Linked DNA regions of Homo sapiens: region 2 is linked to region 1. Evidence: promoter capture Hi-C in 16 types of primary human blood cells and fetal thymus (Javierre and others, 2016). All regions are on one chromosome and are shown on one strand. The core of a region is centred on a gene start or on the middle of the fragment in contact, and the rest is flanking DNA. Distances in the headings are between cores, read along the strand shown. Region 1 holds the start of CBX2 (chromobox 2). Region 2 has its middle 5.0 kb from the start of RENO1.

Evidence for each region. Contacts are between HindIII fragments. The CHiCAGO score rates a contact against its expected background, and 5 or more counts as called.
Region 2: a contact is called between a fragment that was not itself captured here and the fragment with the promoter of CBX2 in region 1, in 1 of 17 cell types (total B cells). The highest score is 5.4, in total B cells.

What each region holds. Positions count from the first base shown.
Region 1 is chr17:79,774,664-79,780,630 of GRCh38, forward strand. CBX2 (chromobox 2) reads left to right here and starts at 3,485. Exons shown (of 5, transcript NM_005189.3): 1 at 3,485-3,644; 2 at 3,721-3,764; 3 at 4,699-4,764. The coding sequence starts at 3,573. RefSeq lists silencers at 3,290-3,669, 3,680-3,749 and an enhancer at 4,145-4,738. The HindIII fragment of the contact is 13,003 bases long and covers 238-5,967 here.
Region 2 is chr17:81,348,027-81,353,993 of GRCh38, forward strand. No RefSeq gene overlaps it. Among named protein-coding and RNA genes, the nearest start is that of RENO1, 5.0 kb to the left of the region's middle. RefSeq lists an enhancer at 275-912. The HindIII fragment of the contact is 1,209 bases long and covers 1,591-2,799 here.

The DNA.
Region 1 (5,967 bases), core at 2,235-4,734:
TGCCCATTTGCCCCTCCCAGGCCAACATGGGAAACAGCAGGCCCAGGCTCCACGGTCCTGTACCTGATACAGTTTGTATTCTCCTGCCTCATGTGCACAGCGAGGGATTGGGCAGGCTGCCCTTTGTAAGAAGTGTTCTAAACGCTGAGAGCCCTGGGCTGCCTCTGGCTTGTCCTGGGTCAGAATCCAGGGGCGGACATGTGCATCGTGTGCCCAGGGGTCCTTAGGCAAACTGAAAGCTTGAGGGATCCTGCAAGTGCCTGAACTGTGCTTATTTTTACTTGAGTTCTGATACACAAACACGGTCTGTCCCGCATATGTAATATTCACATATTACATACACAGAAACGGCGTGACATTAACACAGCTAGCCTGTAAGTCACACCTTAGTCTTGCAAATGTGCAGAGGAGCTGGGGGCAAATTACGACATGAGATATTAAATGTGATGTAAATGTGTGATGTATTCTAAATCCTGAGTGTATCCCATGCAGACCGGCTGGTGGTGGTGTCTGGTTCCTCCTTTTAGCCAACACCGCTGATGGCAGTAGGGAGACAGTGCTTTTAGAAAATCTAAGAGCTGTTTGAAAGTATTTGGTTAAGAAGTAACTACTGTTACCTAGTTACAGCTGCCAAATCCAGGGTCACTGGATTGATCTCAATTCCTGACTTTTCCATTGACTTCAGAGTGAGACATTCTTTGCTTTGGCATCTGTAATTTTCGATCCACAAGCATAGCGTGAAAATACTTATGCTTTCTTAGTAGCATTTCAGACACGAATAAGTTAATACTTGTCCTTATCACTTGCGTAGAAAGGAAATCAGTACTATACAAAGTCTGTACTCCCTGAATGTCTTCCTCTGTGCCTGGATTTTTAATATCTTTTTTGTATGTGTTTTAAACATTCTTGTATATAATTAAGCATAACTGTGAGTGTAGGTAAACTATTCATATTCCAGGATTAATTTATGTAACCGTATTACTTTCATTTAAAATATGTTTAAAGCAGATCCCTCTCATTCCTGTGGACCTGCAAAGTGTCCAGTACAGTGACCACCAGCTACATGTGGCTACTCCCACTGAAATGAATTAAAGTGAAATACAATTTAAAATTCGAGCCTTCAGTGGCACTAGCCACACTGCCAGTGCTCAGCAGTCCCAGGTGCCTAACGGCCACCACACTGGACGCAGTGGAGGGAGGCTCTGTCCATCCACTTCCATCACCCACAGATGGAGCTGCTGCTACGGTCTTATACTACTGGATATCTAGTAGTGCCCACATGATAGTACATACTAACTATCTGTCGAATGAATAATACAATAATTAGTTTTAACTTGTCTTAATAATTCTTAAAATGTGACAGTCAAAACGGAAGACGTCCGCTTGTTTTACACAGTTGGATTAGCTGGGGGTTATTCTTCCCTTCTGCCTATTCCCAGCTTTGTTTTTAGGGAACGTGCCACAGATTTTGGATCACACGTTCACAGAATGTATCTGATTATTTCATTCTGGCCAAATCTGTCATATTTGTTTCTCCAAATGAATTATCTAAATATTATTTTACCCAAACTGTTTGCAGTTGGGTAGATGATGTACATGTTAAACCTTCCTGGACGCTGATTTATTTTTTTCAATGTGTTAGTATCAAATTCTAGCAAATTTATTTCTTAAGCAAAGAAATCATTCCCTTTTCAAAGCCTTCTTTTCTTTAAAAAGAAATCAAGCAAGTATCCCAGCATACCATGAGTCAAAGAGGAAACTGGAAACTTCCAGGGCAAAATCTTAGACCCAAGATGAATTCTGCAAGGAAACGTGATGTGAAACTGATCCAGCTATTTGTAGGATTACAATAAATACACCTTTGCCCTCAACTCCACAATTTACTGCCAAGCTGCACAAGACAGGGATACAAAAGGAGCCGGCGGAGACACTGTTAGCGGATCCCTTCACTCCAGAGGCCAGTTTTATCCCAACACAAGGATTCTTTACTGCCTCTGCCCCTGAGTAAACAAACACCTTCCCCCCAAGGACATTTCCCTTTCTCCTGCCCTCTTTGCAAACAACATCTGAATTTGCACGTACTCTCCAGGAAATCAAATGAATGTAACCTATCTAACCAAAGAAACTGAAGAACACGCCATAAATTGAAAGATCGGTTCCTACAGTTCAGTATTTTCTCCAGTAGGCCTTTCTGTAAAAACAAAAAAACACATTTCTCCTGCAGAACCCTTTATAAATATGGTTTTGATGATCACAATTACATTGAGACAGTCTCCTACAACAAGAAACGACTTTTGGATCTGCTCAACAGAAAGAGAATTTTGCAGCTGTGTTCAAGGAAGCAAGAAAAGCAGAGAGTGAATTTTCATGGAGTTAGACTGCGTTGAGACGAATGAAGCTAAGGCTCAGGTCTCTTTCATTACGTGTTTGACTTGTCCTGATTCAAAATCTAAATAACTTAAAGGGTGATTCTTCATGGAATTCGAATCTTAACACCGGAATAAAAGGGTAGCCTGCTGACGACGATCACAGGGAGGACAAGGGGTCACCCCCACTTTCATAACATGGCCTGACCCTTTTCTGCCGCGGACAATTGATCCGAAGGACGCCGGCTGCCCAGCCCTGGCGGGCCACTACTGACCTAGTCCGAAGTTAGGAACAGCCTTGCAAACCGCCCCCTCCCCCTCCATTTCATCAAAATCGGGGAACAAATTCAGAAAAGGTGCAGCTGGTTTTCTCCCTACACGTGCCCTAAAACTCGGGGGCTGGATCCACTTTTCATAGCTGTTTAATAAGAACTCCGGGCAGTTCGTATTACTTCTTTCTCAGAGTGCTTGGTGGTTTAAGTTAAAGCATTTTCCTCTCTCGCCTTTGGGGGAAAAAGCCTCGGCTGCTGGGGTTTGTGGGCCCCTCCCCCGGACTTCGTCTTCCTTTCCTTCCCCAGCCCCCGACCCGTTTTGCTCTCGTCCAAAACAGAGCGACTCCCCCGCTGCCGAGGAAAAGCCAGTTCAAGAAGCCGGGGGAAGGGTGGGGCCCCGCGTGCCCCGGAGCAGCGCCCCTCGAAGGCGGGGGCAGGAAGCAGCCGCCGCGCCCCGTCCCGCTTCCCTCCCTTCGGGCCAGAACAATGGCTTTTTGCCCGGAAAACGGAGTTGGGAGCAAGGGCGGGCGCGCCCCGGGAATCACGCGGGACTCGGTGGGCGCCCCAGGCCCGAAGTCCCTAGGCACCTCCTCCCCCAGCCAGGGGCCCGCCCGCGCCCCCACCCCCGCCCCCGCCCCCGCCCGGGGCCCCGCGCGGGACCCCCCGCCGGAGCGCGAGGCCCAGCCCGCCGCGGACAATGCGCGCCCCGCCCCGCCCCGCACCCGCCCCCCCTCGCTGATTGGCCCGCACGGGATTTGGGCAGCGCGCGGGGGCGGGCGGCGGGCCGGGGCGCGGGCGCGGAGCGGCGGTGCGCGTGCGCGGGGCGGGCCGGCGCCGGGCGGGGGCGGTGCTTTGTGTGCTGCCGGCGGGGCGCGCGGCGGTCCGGGCGGGTGACTGGCGGCGGGCGCCGCGGTCGGGCTGGCTGCCGGGCAGCATGGAGGAGCTGAGCAGCGTGGGCGAGCAGGTCTTCGCCGCCGAGTGCATCCTGAGCAAGCGGCTCCGCAAGGTGCGTGCGGCCCGCCGGGCCCCCCGCCCGCCGCCCGCTGTCCGTCTGGCTCACGGCCCCTCTTCTCTCCCCGCAGGGCAAGCTGGAGTACCTGGTCAAGTGGCGCGGCTGGTCCTCCAAGTGAGTCCCCCGCGACGCCGCGCCCCCCTCCCGCCCCCTCGCCCGGGGGTGGGGACGTGGAGCCCCTCGGCCGCGCCGTCCGGTGGCCTGGGGGCGCCCGCGGGCAGAGCGGGAAGTTCGCGGGGTCCCCGCGGGCTCCTCCGGCTCTGAGGGGGGCGGGGGCCGCCCGGCCCGAGGTTGCCCTTTGTTTACACGCCCGCGGGTGCAGAGCTGGGCGGCCCCCCGCGCCAGAACCTCCTCGGCTGCCGCGCCGCGCTCCCCCCAACCCCCGTCCCGGCCGGGAGGGAGGCGCGGGATGCAAGCCCCCCTCCTCTTGGCCAGATTCTCCCCGCTGTAACCTGAGCTTGCTATTGATGGATGTAGAGTTTCTTTTTTTTTTTCTTTCTTTTAATGGAAGGGAGGGTGTTTGGCATCCCCGGAAGGGGCTCTCTGCACAGCTGCTCCCGCGGCCCCGTTTCTGCGTCTTCCCGGACCCCGCTCTTTCTTCGCTACCCCTCGAGGTGCCCCGGCCCGCGCGCCACATTGTTCTGGATCTCGGGCTGGGCGCCTGTGCCCCTCCCTGCATGCTGGACCTGCCTTCCCTTCCTCCTCTGGCTCCGGGCCAGGGTTTGGGGGAATCCCTCTCTGCAACTTTGCGTTTTATGGGGGTTTGTTTTTCTCCCAGGCAGAGACTGTGGGAGTCCTCTTGTGGCCTTGTTTTAATTGGGGGGTTGGAGCGGCAGTTTCCCTTTGGGTCTGAGGTTAGAGTGCTGGCTTGGTGGGGGGTGGCCAGCCTCCAAAACCTGGGTTTGGACTTTGAGAAGTGCCATGGTGCTACGGTGCCACTGCCATCGGCCCAAGTCGAGGAGCGGTGAGGGCGAGCCCCCTCGGGCTGCCTTGCAAAGCGGTGATCATCAGCCTGGCGTCTAATGCTGCCCTGTCCTCTGCTTTGCAGACATAACAGCTGGGAGCCGGAGGAGAACATCCTGGACCCGAGGCTGCTCCTGGCCTTCCAGAAGAAGTGAGGACGCTGACAGCACTGGGGAGGGTGTGGGGGAGGGACGGTGGCTGGTTGGAGTCGTGCTGGGCGCTGCTCGCCTGCCGGGAGGCTGGAGCTGGGGCTGTGGTCTGAGGTCCCTTAGCAAGATTGTGTCCAGGGCCATCTCTGTGGCTGGCTGTAAAAGTCCCCAGCCAGCCCCTCTCCCACCTTCTCCTAGCCAGCCTGTATCCATCCCTGAGAAGAACCTAAGTAAGTGCTGCTTTGGTGTTTCCGACAGCCATACTTGCAAAAACCAACTTTTTCAGTTGCTTCAGATAAAGATGTTATAGCTTCTCTTGGCCTTTTCTGCTGAGTAATTTGCACATGGCGCTAACAGAAAACCAGGAGAGCAGGTTTGCCACAGTGACGCAGGTCTGCCCTTCCAGCCCTGCACGCGTGTGCCATCAGGCAAGAAGGCTCAGAGAGGGAGCTGGAACACACAGCACGCAGTTGTGCCTATTGTGATGTCTCTCTCAAGAAAGAAACATTTATTTTGCTCTGGCCTGCAGCATACAGTACCAAGTAGCACCATGAGGCCGGATTGGGCCAGACTTGTTTCTGTAATTCTAGATGTCATTTCTATTTTTAGGTAGGAAGTTTAGGTTAAGAGATAGGCCTCCTTGAGATGTTCAAGGGCAAGGGGTGGTGAGGAGAGGGCAGTGGATGTGCCCACCTGGCATGAAGGGCCAGGGAGTACTGTTCAAGCAATGGCAAGATGGGGGGTGGTTTCACTGACGGCTCCCCCTGGATCCCCTGGCTGGACTTGCCCTGTGGATAGAGGCAGAAGAATTGGTTGCTGGAGTCTTTCCCAGCCAGGGTCAATCTGGACGGTTTGTTCTCTGGTAGCAAAAGGTGCATTCCCTTTTTTCCACTGTAGCGGGACATATTGGGTCTTCCCAGAGGGGTCATGATAATGGGGAAATAGAGTTTTCTGGTGGGGCGAGCAAAAAGAAGAGCCTGTGCTTGCTTAAATCCCTTTGGAAAATCGTAACAGCAACCCATCGTCTTCTGTTAGTTCCTGTCTGGGTGCTGTGAGCCTTGGGGTGGGGGAATGGCTTGGCCCACTTCAGAGGCTGGTGCGCTTCTCTGGATCTAAGACGGTGTCCTAACTGTTGAGAGAGATTGTGGTTTTGGTTAGAGCAGAAACACCTGAGATAAGAAGAGTGTAAAACCCATGGGTGGCTT
Region 2 (5,967 bases), core at 945-3,444, 1.6 Mb after region 1:
GTCCCTGGAGATGACAAAAAAAAAAAAAAAAACTGAGGCCAGGCACAGTGGCTCATGCCTGTAATCCCAGCACAGCACTTTGGGAGTCTGAGGCAGGCAGATCACCTGAGGTCAGGAGTTCAGGACCAGCCTGACCAACATGGAGAAACCCCATCTCTACTAAAAATACAAAATTAGCCAGCCTTGGTGGCGAATGCCTGTAGTCCCAACTATTCAGGAGGCTGAGGCAGGAGAATCGCTTGAACCCAGGAGGTAGAGGCTGTGGTGAGCCGAGATTGCGCCATTGCACTCCAGCCTGGGCAACAACGAGAGTGAAACTCCATCTCCAAAAAAACAAAGAAAAAAAAACTGTAAGTCCATTACAACCAGCAGGGACAAGATGGGTGCCCTCCGTGGCCCAGAAATCTGGAGGAGTCCTGGGGAGATGGGGGTGGGGACGTTGCTCTCGCTGGAGGGAAGAAATGACAGCCTTGGTGCCCAGAAGTGAAACCTGCTGGCAGGTGATGGCAGCTCCCAGAGGAGCCAAGGGGCCCTGGGACAGTGGGAGGGGGATGGCTGGGGTGTCTGTGGGAGGGCAGCCTCACCCTTGGCTGAGTACACTCAGCACAGGCAGTGGACAGAGAAGAGATCCCATTGTGGAATAACACCTGGAGGGAGCGGGGAGTCGTGGGCTCTGAGCCGTCAGCCACAGTTGAGGTGTCTGACCACGTGCTGCTGATGGACAAGCAGGGATCCCACACAAAGCTGGGATCACCAACCCCAAGGACGCACCACAAACTGAAGAACTAACACGAGCGAACTAACTAGCGCAGAGCCGGCGCTGTACAGCGAGATTGGGTGCCCCTCCTCCTTGGCCTGGGCTAGACTGAATCTGCCAGGTTCCCTGGCAAGGGGTGTGGCCAGGTGGCCACCTGCAGTGGAGGTGACAGCAGTGACGTGTGCCTCTCCTGTGACTGGCCCAAAAGGCCCTCCATTAACTTTTCCTTTCCCAGGGCCTGGCAACAACCAGGGTGACACAGGAAGCTTCGCTTGAGGACAGCAGAGTCACCCTCAGCCTAGGGCTCTGAGTGACTGCAAGAATCAAGGCCATTGTCAAACGGAAACCCTGCCATGGTTGTCAAGAGAGAAATCCACTTCTCTTTTGTTTAGGCATTTACACCAGCGTCTATGCCTCAGAGCAGTTTAACTTACAATTCAATTAGCAATTTAATCATTGGTTTTTCACTCCCCCGTAGCAGAATTTTACATCCGTCTGCTTGCTGTGGTCTCTAGGTGGTGGGTGGGCTCTCCTCCCTTGACTTTGGGCTTGGCGAGTGACGTGCTCTGGCTAGTGGGAAGGTAGCAGATTTGAAATGGGCAAAGGTTTGGAATGTGCCAGCAAGGGCAGCCTGGTCTTCCTGCTTGCCAGGGACCCACTACAAGCAGGCTGTGCCCCAGAGAAGAATGGAGAACGCAGATAACTGACGGGGGCTCCAAGAAGCGAGAAACCTGGGCGGACCTCAGCCCAGCCCACATCCCAGAACCCGGAGGCCAGGGGCTTGGCCAGGTGGAGGTCGGCCCTAGCCCTGTGAGCGTGAGACTCGGCCACCAAGCTTTAAGGTCGTCGTTATGCAGCACTGTTGTGGCAAAAGCCGACTGATACACCTGCCCTGGCACTTGGGGATACAGGGAAACGGATGTGGTGAATTGAAGATGATGCCACACGTCCCCTGGTGTGCCGAGGTAAAGGCTTGGGAACGCTGGGAAGAGGGAGGAAAGAGCCAGAAGGTTAGCGCGAGGCACTCATTCCCTGTAGCTTGACTACTGTTTCCAGAAATTGAGGGCCGGTTTGCAATTAGAGTTACCCCAGAAAGTTGGGACTCCCAGGTTGAAAAAGCCACTGTTTATGCCTCAAACAGTAGGAGAAAAGATGGTGGCTGTTCAAGGCCTGTCACTCAGGCAGCTCAGTCCAACAAAAGTGTGCAGGCCTACGGCAAAGATCAGATGAAGGCTCAGGTTGCGGGGGGAGGGGAGCAGATGGCTTAATGAATCATCTGTCAGTTGGACCCGGAAGACAGTCATCGGGACCCACGGAAAGGCTCTGCCCATCCTAGAGAGGCAGGCTTTGGGCTGGGTCTTCTCCCTGGAGATGATGGTGACTTTTTCTAACACGATGTGTGGAGGAAGGGTGGGTCTCACAGATGTCTGGAGGCCAAGGGCTGGCTGGCTGCCGTCCGGCTGTCCAACAGAAGCCGTTACCCCTTCTCATGGGGCCCCTGGCTGGTCTGCATTCCCAGGCTCCCTCGCAGTAGGTGTGGCTGGGTAACCGTGGTGTCCAACAGAATCTGGCAGAAGCAGTGTGCACCAGTTTCAGGAGCAGGTCACCCTTCCAGGAGGCTTTTAGGGTTCCCCCTTCTGATGGCTGAAATGGGCACATCAGAGAGACTGTGGAAGACAAATGTGCAAGATGACAGGGCAGCCTTCAGCCTGGGGCCCAACCAGGCCCCACCCCGCAGGAGCACTTGCTTGGGCAGGTCAGGGATAAATAAGCCGCGGGCTGGCATGGGCAGCTACGTTTGGGGTCTATTTGCTACAGTTGTGTAACTTGCACTGAGCAAGAGTTTCAGAACACACAGTGTTCAAAAACACCAGTAATAGCTTCAGAGAGAAAAGAGATTTTGTTCTTTAAAAAAAGAATCTGGGGAAGTGAACTCAGATTTTTGCTTCCTTCCTCATAATTTTAGGTAGTATTCAAAAATTTACAAGAAGATTCAGAAATAATAACCAAGAAAACTGCATTCATGTGAACAAATAAAAATAAGCTTTGGGGCTGGGCACAGTGGCTCGCGCCTGTAATCCCAGCATTTTGGGAGGCCAAGGCGGGTGGATTGCTTGAGGTCAGGCATTTGAGACCAGCTTGACCAACATGGTGAAACCCTGTCCCTACTAAAAATACAAAAATGAGCTGGGCGTGGTGGCGGGTGCCTGTAATCCCAGCTACTCAGGAGGCTGAGGCAGGAGAATCACTTGAATCCGGGAGGCAGAAGTTGCAGTGAGCCAGGACTGCGTCATTGCACTCCAACCTGGACAACAAAGTAAGACTCTGTCTCAAAAATTATAAAAAATAAATAGAGGCCGGGCACGGTGGCTCACACTTGTAATCCTGTATCTGGAATTGGTGGGTTCTTGGTCTCACTGACTTCAAGAATGAAGCCGTGGACCGTCACGGTGAGTGTTACAGTTCTTAAAGGCGGCGTGTCTGGAGTTTGTTCCTTCTGATATTCAGATGCGTTCGGAGTTTCTTCCTTCTGGTGGGTTCGTGGTCTCGCTGGCTCAGGAGTGAAGCTGCGGACCTTCGCGGTGAGTGTTACGGCTCTTAAGGCAGCGCGTCTGGAGTTGTCCTTCCTCCCGGTGGGCTCGTGGTCTCGCTGGCTTCAAGAGTGAAGCTGCAGACCTTCGGGGTGAGTGTTACAGCTCATAAAGGCAGTGTGGACCCAAAGCGTGAGCAGTAGCAAGATTTATTGCAAAAAGCGAAAGAACAAAGCTTCCACAGCGTGTAAGCAGACCAGAACAGGTTGGCACTGCTGGCTCGGGCAGCCTGCTTTTATTCTCTTATCTGGCCCCACCCACATCCTGCTGATTGGTAGAGCCCAGTGGTCTGTTTTGACAGGGCACTGATTGGTGTGTTTACAATCCCTGAGCTAGACACAAAGGTTCTCCACGTCCCCACCCGATTAGCTAGATACAGAGTGTCTACACAAAGGTTCTCCAAGGCCCCACCAGAGTAGCTAGATACAGAGTGTCGATTGGTGCATTCACAAACCCTGAGCTAGACACAGGGTGCTGATTGGTGTGTTTACAAAACTTGGACTAGATACAGAGTGCCGATTGGTGTATTTACAATCCCTTAGCTAGACATAAAGTTCTTCAAGTTCCCACTAGACTCAGGAGCCTAGCTGGCTTCACCCAGTGGATCTCGCACTGGGGCTGCAGGTGGAGCTGCCTGCCAATCCCGCGCCGTGCGCCCACGCTCCTCAGCCCCTGGGTGGTCGATGGGACTGGGCGCCGTGGAGCAGGGGGTGGCGCTCGTCGGGGAGGCTCGGGCTGCACAGGAGCCCACGGGTGGGGGGCGCGGGGCGGGGACGGGAGGCTCAGGCATGGCAGGCTGTAGGTCCCAGCTCTGCCCCACGGGAAGGCAGCTAAGGCCTGGCGAGAAATCCAGCGCAGCGCCGGTGCGCCGGCACTGTTGGGGGACCCAGCACACCCTCCGCAGCCGCTGGCCCGGGTGCTAAGCCCCTCATTGCCCGGGGCTGGCAGGGCCGGCCGGCTGCTCCGAGTGCGGAGCCCGCCAAGCCCACGCGGAACTCCAGCTGGCCCGCAAGCGACGCACGCAGCCCCAGTTCCCTCTCGCGCCTCTCCCTCCACACCTCCCCGCAAGCTGAGGGAGCCGGCTCCGGCCTTGGCCAGCCCAGAAAGGGGCTCCCACAGTGCAGCGGCGGGCTGAAGGGCTCCTCAAGTGCCGCCAGTGGGAGCCCAGGCAGAGGAGGCGCCGACAGCGAGCGAGGGCTGTGAGGACTGCCACACGCTGTCACCTCTCAATCGCAGCACTTTGGGAGGCCGAGGCGGGTGGATCACGAGGTCAGGAGATCGAGGCCATCCTGGCTAACACGGTAAAACCCTATCTCTACTAAAAATACAAAAAATTAGCCGGGCGTGGTGGCGGGCGCCTGTAGTCCCAGCTACTTGGGAGGCCGAGGCAGGAGAATGGCGTGAACCCAGGAGGCGGAGCTTGCAGTGAGCCGAGATCGCGTCACTGTACTCCAGCCTGGGTGACAGAGCAAGACTCCGTCTCAAAAATAAATAAATAAATAAATAAAAAATTGGGCTCGTTTGGTTTTGTGGAGTGTTTTGAGACAGGGAGTACAGCAGCAGGGTCACTGTAGTACAGCACAGGAGTCACTGCAGCCTCCACCTCCCAGGGTCACGCAATCCTCCCACCTCAGCCTCCCAAGTAGCTGGGACCAGAGGGTTTGAGCCACTACACCCAGCTAATTTTTCATGTTTGCTTTGTAGAGATGAGGTCTTGCTATGTTTTCCAGGCTGGTCTGAAACTCCTGGCCTCAAGTGATCCTCCCTCCTTGACCTCCCAAAGTGCTGGGATTACAGACATGAGCCACCTCACCCCGCCCCACTTTCTTTTTTTTTCTAATCAGCCCCAACTCATTATTTATTTTCACTGGTCTCTAACCAAAATTTGACATTTCCTTCAGTGATGAATGTATGACATAACTAAAATAACTAAAATGACTCAAATCATGCTGCGATTGTTGCAGATATCTTTTTTTGGAAACGGAGTCTTGCCCTGTCGCCTAGGCTGGAGTGCAGTGGCGCCATCTCGGCTCACTGCAACCTCTGCCTCCCGGGTTTAAGCGATTCTCCTGTCTCAGCCTCCCAAGGAGCTGGGACTATAGGCGCACGCCACCACGTCTGGCTTATTTTTGTATTTTTAGTAGAGACGGGATTTCACCATGTTGGCCAGGATGGTCTTGATCTCCTGACCTCATGGTCGGCCCACCTCGGCCTCCCAGAGTGCTGGGGTTACAGACGTGAGCCACCACGCCCAGCCAGCCAGGCTGGTCTTAAACTCCTGATCTCAAGTAATCCACCTGCCTCGGCCTCCAAAGTGCTGGAATTATAGGCGTCAGCCACTGCAGCTGGCCACAGATATCTCAAAATACTGTTTCTGTTCATCACAAACACATGTATTGCATGTACCAGAACTTTTGTGATGCATTAATATGTATAATTAATATGCATTAATGTGTACAAGTATAAAAAATATATGCAGGGGCAGGGTGTGGTAGCTCATGCTGTAATCCCAGTGCTTTGGGAGGCTGCGGAAATAAGATTGCTTGAGTCCAGGAATTCAAGACCAGCGTGGGCAACATGGGGAGCCCCTGTGTCTCTACAAAAAATTTAAAAATTAGC